2 separate regions of the Homo sapiens genome follow, and region 2 is linked to region 1. Evidence: promoter capture Hi-C in 16 types of primary human blood cells and fetal thymus (Javierre and others, 2016). All regions are on one chromosome and are shown on one strand. The core of a region is centred on a gene start or on the middle of the fragment in contact, and the rest is flanking DNA. Distances in the headings are between cores, read along the strand shown. Region 1 holds the start of ZC3H12C (zinc finger CCCH-type containing 12C). Region 2 overlaps FDX1 (ferredoxin 1).

What was found. The method cuts DNA at HindIII sites, captures the fragments that hold promoters and counts their contacts. A CHiCAGO score of 5 or more calls a contact.
Region 2: a fragment that was not itself captured here is called in contact with the fragment with the promoter of ZC3H12C in region 1 in 2 of 17 cell types (M0 macrophages and endothelial precursors); the score reaches 5.9 in M0 macrophages.

Annotation. Positions count from the first base shown.
Region 1 is chr11:110,090,854-110,098,615 of GRCh38, forward strand. ZC3H12C (zinc finger CCCH-type containing 12C) reads left to right here and starts at 2,539. Exons shown (of 6, transcript NM_033390.2): 1 at 2,539-2,579. The coding sequence starts at 2,559. RefSeq lists silencers at 1,749-1,808, 2,109-2,368, 2,429-2,898. The HindIII fragment of the contact is 5,266 bases long and covers 1-5,164 here.
Region 2 is chr11:110,432,263-110,435,685 of GRCh38, forward strand. All of the region lies in intron 1 of FDX1 (ferredoxin 1), which reads left to right. Among named protein-coding and RNA genes, the nearest start is that of FDX1, 4.0 kb to the left of the region's middle. The HindIII fragment of the contact is 2,203 bases long and covers 1,073-3,275 here.

The DNA.
Region 1 (7,762 bases), core at 1,289-3,788:
TAAAGCCGTGCCATAGATGCTGTCACTTATCGTCAAACAGCCAGTCTCGTTCTAAGTCCCTGCTAAGTCCCTTAGAGATCCTAAGATTGAGGGCCTCTAACTCTGCTCCAGAGACCTCCAAGGTTTTGGCACAGTGTAAAGGGGCTGCTTTCCCAGCCCCTACTTTCCTGCCAATAAAAATCTGACCCGGCTGCAGACAGCAGGCTACCAATCTTCCTAAGGGTCTTCAGGGTGGTATGAAAAAATGTGGACCTGGCCGGGCACAGTGGCTCACGCCTGTAATCCCAGCACTTTGAGAGGCCAAGGAAGATGGATCACTTGAGGCCAGGAGTTTGAGACCAGCCTGGGCACATGGGGAAAACTTGTCTCTACTAAAAATACAAAAACTAGCCAGATGTGGTGACACACACCTGTAATCCCAGCTACTGGGGAGGCTGAGGCAGGAGAATCGCTTGAACCCAGGAGGCGGAGGTTGCAGTGAGCTGAGGTCGCACCACTGCACTCCAGCCTGGGCGACAGGGTCAGACTCTATATAAAAAAAAAGTGTGCACCACAGAACCAGAGAAGGCAGCCTACCTGCCTACCTGCAATTTTATTTAATCGGCTTCATGACTGGCCTACTGACGTGGAAAACAGGCTCAGTAAGACACTCTCCTTTCATCTCACAGGCAGAGTCAGGATGCTCATGTGCACCAGCCAGTAGGATACTCTCAGCTGGGACCCCAACATCAACAGCTAAAGAGCAACTGATGCTGGCCAAAAAGATGGGGACATCTGTGCTGCTCAACTGAGCCATAAAGGCCTACATTTGGTAGAGAATATTAAACTGAAAATTATCAAGTTTGAACCCCAATAAGCATCATGAATATCACTACCATTAGGCAGTCCAAGCAAATTCAACAGATCCAGGCTTAAACCATATATATGCCCTACTGAAAACAACTCAGAGGCAAAACTAATTTTATGAAAGGTAAAAAGTTGATCAAAGGCATGAATCGTGGTCCAGTGAAACAAATGCGTCCTTTAGATGTAACAGACCTGAATACCTCACATTCAAGCTGTGTAACTGCAGGTAAATTTTCTAACCTCGATTTTCTGATGGATAAAGGGGTTTCTAATACCCAGCTCACATGGCTGTGGTGACAAACGGGACAGTGGATTTAAAGCAGGCTATTTGGCCCGTGGCATATGGTAGGGGCACAACCCATTCAGTGTCCCTCCCTCTCACTCCAGAAGCAGACTCATCCTGCCCTAGGCTGCTCGTAATGATTCCAAGGACAGGCGAATAAGGTTATTTGAACATTTCTGAAACATTGACTTAGTTTGTGCTGGGTGTTGTACGATTCACAGAAGTAGAAAGGCTCTCTGCTCCCGGTGCTTTTCAGCCTGCGATTCAGGCGCCCACCTCTGTGCAAAGGGCTGTTTCCTTCCGATCTCCTGAAAGAGATCTGGATGTATCTTGGGTTCAACCTCGATTTTGACACGATTGCCATTTCCATCAAAGCCAATTTCCTTGCTGAAAGAAGTCCTATCCCTGGGTGAAATCCCAACAGCTTCATTTGTTTAAATTCTTTTATTGGCCTTGCTAATGCAGGGTGTGGTTTTTCCTCATCACGGAATATTGATAAGTAAACAACTACGGGGAACCTGCCCTAAGAAGGCGGCCCGTCGATCTCCTTGACTGCCCGGGACATGATCAGTGTTACTGCTGGGTGGAGAAGGTGTCGCCGAGCGGAAAGGCGCCGTCCTGCACCAGGTCGGGGGAGAGGCGCGGGGAGGTCGGGACCGCTGGGTTGGGCCGGGGCAGGGAATAGGCGCGAGGGGAGGCGGCGCGGGAACCTCGGGCAGCCCCAGCGGCTGGGTCGAGCCCGACAGGTTCCAGCAGCTCCCCTCACCCCTCTCCACGCCTCTCGGGTTTTCCCCTTGGCTCAGGGTTTCCTGTTTCAGTTCTCGGCGTTCTCCAGCAGCAGGTGCTGGTTTGCCAACCTCGGCTCCAGAGGCGGCGACGGAGGAGAAGGAAAAGAGGGAAGGGGAGGAGGAAGCGGCGCGGCTGCGGTGGCTGCGGGCGGGCGGGCGGGCGAGGAGCGCGGAGCGAGGTGGCGGAGCCGGGTTCGCTCTCGCCCGCGGAGCAGCGGCACGGACGAAGGGCAGGGCCGAGCCGAGCCCAGCGCTCGGGCGCGCCCGAGCCGGGGCCCTGGCGTGCGGCCAGCTGTCCGGGCGGGAGGCATGAGGGAGCCTCGCGCTCGCCCCGCGCCCTAGCGGCGGCCGCGGCAGCCCAGGGCTGAGGCGAGAGGCGGCCGCCTGCCGGAGGGCCCCGGGGCTGCCCCAGCTCCAGGGCATGTAGTGATGGCTGCGGAGAAGAGAATGCAAGTAGGTTGAGCAACAGATTCGAGTGCGCGCGCGTTGGGGCTGTGAGTTGTGCAACCCAGGGAGGGGGCGCCGGGGCTGCGGCCCGCGGAGAGGGCGCGCGGGCGGGCGCGGCTTGGCGCGGGAGGGCCGCGGTGGCCGCTTCTCCGCGGGCCCCGCCGCCCGCTCGCCGCTTTCTCGCGGGGCTGGCTATGCCGGGTGGCGGCTCCCAGGTTTGTCCTCGGGAAGGGGGTGGGGGACGCGGACCGCGGCGAGAGTGGTCCTGGGGTAGCCGGTCGTGGGGAGGGCCGCGGGGCCGCGCCCGGGCGCCAGGCGGAGGGCGCCGGGGCCGCAGCGACCTCGCCGTGTGATCTCCAGGCCCAGGCGGGTCGGGCTCCGGAGGTCGAGTCACCGAGCTCCGGTCGCTCAGGTGGGGCCGAGCGGAAAGCCCAGCGCATCCTCCCCTCGGGCAACGCCGTCCCCGCCGGGATTTCGGGCGAGGTGAGGCCGGGCTTCCCGGCCCCGCGGCCTAAGGCACCGGTCCCCGCCCGCCCGGGGGCATAGATCGCGAACATGGAGGCGGGCTCGGGCGCCGCGGATGGAAACGGACACACTGCGCTGCCCCAGCGGCTCAGACTCGCGCGCGCTCGTGGGGCGAGACATCTCTTGGCATCTCGGATCCAGCCCTGGCCATTCGCTTAACTATCCATCCCTCCATCCAGATCGCCAGCAACCCCAGGCCGAGCGTCACGAAAGCCCCTCACTCCCCCCTCGTCCCTCCTTCACCCCCAGGCTCCAGTCCAGATCCCTTTTACACGCTGCGTTCATTTTAGCTCGGCTGTTCACATTTTTAACTCCGTATTAAGAAGTGTTACAAATATAACTTGGAGAAATGAATCCCGCATTTCTTCCCTAAGCTGTCTCATTTCAAGTCCTTAAAAACAGCCCTAACATCCAAGTACTGATTACTCTGTCTGGGGTTCTTGCCATTTGGTTATCCGTTAACAATCTCGGTTTGTGTTCGGTGTTTTGTGATAAAGAGATGAAAGACGAATCCAGATTTAGGAAAAGTTTTCCTATTGGTTGACAAGACTGTATTGGAGTATCCCAGGCCCATCAGGCGCTTATTGATTCAGACTTTTTTTAAACCATTTTAGAATAGATGCAGAGATAATTGGAGCTAAGTATTGTATGTTTAGGAATTTGGCAACGTTGTTCAGTTTTTCACTTGTTACGTGCTTGAGTTTTTCCACTTTTAAAATGCATATTATAAACGGAAAACGAGATAAACCTCAAACACAATTTTTGACTTTTCAAGAACCACAAGAAGTCATAAATACAGTGTGTTATAAATGTTTTTGTCTTAATGGACTTAGGATTTAGAGGGTATGACTTCCATTCATTTAATCACATGTACAATTAATTTTAGTAGCAGTTTCTTAAGTTTAGGGTTCTCTGTGTTTGACTACATGATAGCTTCATCAAACATTGGTAAAATTAATCTTAGTGTGATAAGCCCAGGAAGATGCCTATTTCGGACTTGACCCCCTGTTCACCTGTTTTCTTCAACAATTTGGCATGCTTATTTCCAGTTACCTAAATCTGTCTACTGGATGGTACCATAAAAATAGAATGGCCTGTTGACTATGTACCCATAGTTCAAAATGTTTTAATATTTTTACATGAAAGAGTCTATCTTACTTTCAAAGTAAGTTACAAGATTCTACTTCTAGTATTTGGTCACCATAAAAGTACTTAAACATTATAACCAAAGTAAAATGAACTTTTAAATAAACAACAACAAAGTGACTGGCATTTTTTAGCCTTTATTTAATAAGGGAAGTCTAACGGAACTATTTTAGTATAATGGGAAATATTAAAGGATAGGAAACAGAAACTTGGAATGTTTCTATACTGATGAGAGTTTTTATTAGTCACTTCCTTTTACTAAATTTTTGTTTTAATGACCAGACTATATAAAAATACCCTATTTTATATTATGGGCTTCTCTGGAGCTAGGTTTTCATGGGTTACCAACGTCTGCAAAATCGGATCCCAAGTTGTTAATAGAAATTTTATGTTTAAAACATTTTTCTCATTCTACAACTAGGTCTTCATTCTAGCAGACCACAGTGGTTGCTACATTAATTTTAATTACTATCACAGACGTAAAAATGTTGCTGTTATAACTTCTTAGTGTGTTTCATTGTTTTTGTACATAAATTTAGAATTCTTTAATTCTGATTTGATAGCATTTTTAAAGAAACAAACAAGGTATTAAGTAGGGAATGTTTTTATCTTTTTACTGTTGGAACGTAGAATAACACTAATCTGCAGTTATTGCTCATTTGAAACTGGTATGCTTCTGTTCTCTCTGCAAATAATTACTTATTATCACTCTAGCTGCTGTGTAAGGCCCCCGACCTCTAAAAGGATAGATTATGAACGAACATAATGCTATGTGGAAAGTACTAAGTTCCGTGAAAAAAGAAGTGAGAAATTCAGGTACTGGGGAGTGCCTCAAAGGTAGGATTTGAGTAGGTAGAGCTGGTTGGGAGTCATTTCCAAATGAGTCAGTGAACCCTGGAAGGAAAGCAGGGAGTGGGCGGTCCAGTATGTGGCGCATGGGGCAGATGATAGGAGTAGTGAGTGGGTAAGTTGGCAAATAGAGTTTTGGAGTATAGTTTTTATTAGAGCAATATTAAGTAAATAAGATGGTCAGTGAATAATGAAAATTAATTCAATCAGGATTCCAAATTTAAGCCTAAAATATTGAGATTCCGGAGTTTGATCGTAAATCTACCAAATGTTCTAAAAAAGCTTCTTGTGTTTTAAGTGCTAATATGCCTCATGGACCTGCAGCATATGAAATCTCATGACTTTACAAAGTGAAAATGTGTGAAGATTCAACAAAACACATGTTATAATCTCTGCTGCTGTTTTGCAATTAATAGTTCAGAGAAAGGATGATCAATCAAGAATGTGATTTTTTAAGAAAGATCTATTTCACCCCAGAATAGATCTCTAATTTCTTGGTGATTCAAGATTTGTTTAAAATTTTTGTAGGATTAGTGTGTAAATTAAATATCTGACACATAGTAATTTTTGGCATCTGATAGTATAAAGATAACTGCAGATATGTGTTGTGGCGGCATCAATTCTCTACTGTTGTTTTGGTTTTTATAGGTGACATAGTAATAGTCACGTTTGTACACTGATGTGCCAGACAACATGCTAAGTCTACATGCATTATCTCATTTAACCCTTGAACACCTTTATGCATTGCTTCTATTATCCCCAGTCTATAGATGCGGAAGCAGAGACACTGAGTTTGAGTAACTTGCCCAAAGTCATATAGCTAGTAAGTTGCAGAAAGGAGTTCAGACCCAGGCAGTCTGACTTTATAACCCATGATCTTAACCACTGTGCAAGTTCTGCCTCGATAGGATTCTGTTTTTAGTTTGTTCTCTAAAAAGTGTGTCATCATGTATGTTGTTTTGTTGACATACACCATTTGAAAATTAAGTGATGCATAGTGAGTATGTAAGACGAGAAGCCTTTCCTCTGCATAGTACGACAGTAGTAGGACAATACAGAAATCCTGTCTGGCCAGGTAAGTTGAAGGCAAGGACCGTGTCTTTTTGCCAGGCTGCTTGAGTTCACTACAGAGACAAATCAAAAGACTCCAGTTTCAGTCCAGCATGGCAAATGATGTAACAGCAGTGTAGTTCACAAAAAGGAGCACTTTTCAGTGAAAGCAACAAACATTCTTAATGAATAATATTTTTTATTGATTTTTATAACTTTTCTCAGACTATAGAAATGTAATGTGCTTACTGTGGAATAAATTAGAAAATATAGAGAGGTATAAAGAATTTTTAAAACACCTGTAATCCCATAATCCAGAGAGAACTCATTTAACATTATGGCAAATTTCTCTCTGTTTAATTATTCTTAGCATCATCAGAGGATTGTTTTACTTTCTTAAGGAAAAATGGAAACTAATTGCACCTAAAGTATAATGTACACGGTTTTACATTACAACACTGACAATAATTCTTATGCCCAGTAATGTAGCCTGAAGCAGAGCTCATAAGCAGATACCTGAACATTCAAAGCATTCTGCCTTTAAGATAAGTATCACATATCTTAGGGTGGATATGGAATAAGTAGAAAATCCCATGGTCTTCCTGCTTACCTGGAACATTTTAAACTATCTTCCCTCACCTTTTGCCTGGGTCACACCTTATTCAGCCCTCAGCTTAGATATCACTTGGTTTACTGCATTGTGGTTTAAGTTTGAGAACGCTATGAAACATTTATTGTGCCAAGTATTGTTCTAAGTGCTGTACATGTATTAATGCATTTAATGCTTACTACCTGCTTATGAAGAGGTATTTCAGTACCTCTTTTTTCAGATGAGAATACCGAACCACAATGTGGTCAAATAACTTACCCGAGTTCCCACAATTAATAATAGCAGAATGAGGGTTCCAATTAATTTAGCCAGGCTAAGTCCCTGTTAAAACAAATACAGTCATGCACTGCATAATCATGTTTTAGTTAAAAACAGACTGCATATATGACAGTGGTGCATAAGATTATAATAGAGCTGAAAAGTTCCTGTCGCCTAGTGATGTCATAGCCATCTCCTGATGTCATAGCACAAGGCATTACTCATATGTTTGTGGTGGTGCTGGTGTAAACAAACCTACAGTGCTGCTGATGGTAGAAGGATAATGAACGATTATGTTACTGGGTTATTTATTTACTATACTATACTTTTTATTGTTATTTTAGAGTGTACTCCTTCTACTTATACAAAAAAAAGTTAACTGTAAAACAGCTTCAGGCAGGTCTATCAGGAGGTATTTCAGAAGGCGGCATTATCATAGGAGGTGACAGTGCCGTGCCTGTTACCGCCCCTGAAGACCTTCCAGTGGGACAAAATGTAGAGGTGAAAAGCAGTGATCTTGGTGATCCTGACCCTGTGTAGACCTAGGCTAATGTATGTGTTTGTGTCTTCATTTTAAATGAAGTTTAAAAAGTAAAAAATTTTCTAGATAGACAAAAGCTTATAGAATAAGGATATAAAGAAAGAAGATATTTTTGTATAGCTGTACAATGTGTTTCTGTCTTAAGCCAAGTGTTATTATAAAACAGTCCAAAAGTTAAAAAATGAAAAAGTTTATAAAGTAAAAAAGTTACAGTAAGAGTAATTTATTGAAGAAAGAAAAATTTTTCGATAAACTTAGGGTAGCCTAAGTGTAGAGTGTTTATGAAATCTACAGTAATGTACACTAATATCCTAGGCCTTCACATTCACTCACCACTCACTCACTGACTTATCCAGAGCAACTTCTAGTCTTACAAGCTTCATTCATGGTAAGTGCCCTATATAGGTGTACCATTTTTA
Region 2 (3,423 bases), core at 924-3,423, 340 kb after region 1:
TTCACGTGTATTGTTTCGTATGACTCTTAAGACAATTCTATGAGGTAGGGAGGGTAGATAAATGGGAATAAAAATTTCATATTAAGTAGCTGGCAAAACTAGGACTAGAACTCAAGAAGTTTTTGCGGATTTTAAAAAAATTTTAAATTTCTATTTATTTTTAAAATTTCAGTAGTTTTGGGGGCACAGGTGGTGTTTGGTTAATGGGTTAGTTCTTTAGTGGTGATTTTGGAGGTGTTGGTGTACTCTTCACCTGAGTGCAGTGGTGCCATCATGGCTCACTGCAGCCTACACCTCCCAGGTTCAAGCGATTCTCGTGCCTCAGCCACCCGAATATCTGGGATTACAGGCGCGTGCCACCACACTCGGCTAAGTTTTGTAGTTTTAGTAGAGATGAGATTTCACTATGTTGACCAGCCTGGTCTGGAACCCCTGGCCTCAAGTAATCTGCCTGCTTCAGCCTCCCAAAGTATTGGGATTACAGGCGTGAGTGACCACTCCCAGCATAGGGTCTACATCTTCTGACTCTTAGGTTCCATACTCTTTCAACTTAAGAATTACATTTTTCTTTCGTTTCCGCCTCCTCTCCTCTTCTTTGGTAAACCTGTTAATACTCTTACTTGGCAGTTTTTTGTAGGGCTGTTTACCTTTAATACAGACCAACAGGTTGGGCTTCTTAGCAAAAGGGCTTGGTCTTTAAATAACAGTTATTAATCAGTGTGTGTTGAATTCTACTATGTGTTACGTATTTTGCATACATTGTCAGAACTATAAGATTAATGTTGTCCAATTTTATAGAAGAGGAGGCTGATGTAAGAGATTTCGAATTCCTTTGCTGTAAGCTTAGCTCTAGAGTGCTTCAGAAGAACAGCAACGCTGAAACCTCTGGCTTTCAGTAGTGTGTATAAATGATGGAATTCTTTCTAATGTGCTTCCTGTAGCTTTAGCTACCAGGCATTCGTTGATGTCAAATCTCTAGACTTCTCTGCTGGGCTCAGACCCATACCCATATTGCCATCTGGTGTTTGGACATTCTCATCTGGCTTTTTCATTATTAAATTCAGCAGGTCTAAGCTTCAACTTATTTCTGTCTTCCCCAAAGTTCCTTTGGTTCCTGTCTTAAACCTAGGTTAAATGGTACCACCTAATTGTGTGAGCTGGAAATCCCAATGTTTTTCTTTCCGCTTTTCAGTTTATCTTATGTAGATGGTCACTAAAACCTTTTGGTCTACCTCCTGGATGTCTGTTAAGTCACTGCATTCTCTGTCCCTGATTAGTTTATGCTGTTTTGATAACCTCCAAAGTGGCCTCCCTGCCTCTAGGGTATTTTCATTCTCAGCCATTGTACTTTGAAAAAAATGGCAGTTATTCATGTTGAAAATTATGAATAATATGTGGGAATACTAGTTTTAAAGCATGTTTTGGCTGTGAAAAGAAGTTGGAGAGCGCAGGCCCTTTTGAGGAACATTCTGGTACACACACACACACCCTTTTGATGAGTTTTAATGAATAGAATCCTGTTTTTTTTCCCAGTGTTATAATATTAGGGAGGGCATTATCCCAGTGGGGCTTCAGTTGCCTCATTTGTGAAATGGGATCACTGGACTTGATAACTTTCGAGATAGTTATGGCTCTGAAATTATTTAATTCTGAGTTTTACTTAAAGATTTGTTTGATGGGCTATTGCCATCTACTGGTAGTAATAAGAATAACAACTCATTATTTTAAGTTGAAGAGAATCTTTTCAAGTGTGAGGTAAAAATTAAAATGACCAATGGTGGAGGAATAAGGATCTAGTTTTTAGTATAATGGCTTCTCAAATTTTGGAGGGATGTTTGTGAGAAGTGAAGGAAATTTAAGTCAGCTAGCTGATAGTTAACATACTATCTTAAAAAAACATGTAAGGAGGTATTTATCTTACAGATTCAAACAAATAAACTTTTTCTAGTCCCTTTGATTTGTAAGTATACAATGTGGACTGAAATGAGATGTCAAATACGCAGAAAACTACTAAACAACATCTCTCAGCAGTAGTATTCTATGTAGCACTGGAAAAGCAATCGCCCTATTGATTTTTTTTTTTTTTTTTTTGGAGACAGAGTTTCACTCTGCCACCCGGGCTGGAGTGCAGTGGTTTGATCTCGGCTCACTGCAACCTCTGCCTTCCGGGTTCAAGCGATTCTCCTGCCTCAGCCTCCCGAGTAGCTGGGATTACAGGCATGTACCACCATGCCTAATTTTTGTATTTTTAGTAGAGACGGGGTTTCGCCATGTTGGCCAGGCTGGTCTTGAACTTCTGACCTCAGGTAATCCGCCCGCCTTGGCCTCCCAAAGTGTTGGAATTACAGGCGTGAGTCACCATGCTCGGCCATGATTTGCTTTTTAGAAGCTCACTACAACCCTGGTCTAGTCTTTTATGGACACATTCATGTTTTTCAGAGAGCTGTGTGATGACTTTTTTTGTTTTTTTTTTTTTTTTTTTTTTTGAGACAGGGCCTTGAGCTGTTGCCCAGGTTAGAGTGCAATGGTGTAATCACGGCTCACTGCAGCCCTGAACTTCTGGGATCGGGTGATCCACCTCAGCCCCATGAGTAGCTGGTACTATGGGCAAATACCACCATGCCTTTTATTTTTCATACACCTACAACCATCTCATTTTTATTTTTATTTTTTGTAGCAATAGGGTCTCTCTGTGTTGCTCAGGCTGGTCTCAAACTCCTGGGCTCAAGCAGTCCCCTGCCTCGGCCTCCCAAAGTGCTAGGAGTACAGGTATGAGCCACCACACTTGGCCTTTTCTTTTTTAAATGACAGGGTCTTGCTGTGTTGCCCAGGCTGGAGTGCAGTGGTGCAATCATATCCCATTGCAGCCTCTTCCTCCTCCTGGGCTCAAGGGATCCTCCCGTTTCAGCCTCCCAATTAGCTGGGACTACAGATCACATCACCACACCTGGCTAATTATTTTATTTTTTGTAAAGATGGGATCTTGCCATGTTGCCCAGGCTGGTCTCAAACTTCTGGCGTCAAACAATCTTCCCACTTCAGCTTCTCGAAGTACTGGGGTTACAGGTGCAAGCTACTGCACTGGCTTGTATGAGAGTAAAATAGAGTTCATGAGTGATAATAATTGCCAAATGTTTTATAACTGTGACTATTAGGGAGACATATACTGAGGCCACCAGGTGGCGTTGACCAGGTAGTCATTGCCATTTCCTGTAAGGTAGTAGAGCTTATTACCTGGTAGGTGGGTAGATATATATGCCTTTGATTTCCAAATAAGCTTTGGAAAGAAAAGAAAATACCTTCGGCTAGGCATGGTGGCTCAGGCCTGTAATCTCAGAGTTTTAGGAGGCCAAGTTGAGAAGATGGCTTGAGGCCAGGAATTTGAGACCAGCTTGAGCAACATGGTGGCACCCCGTCACTACA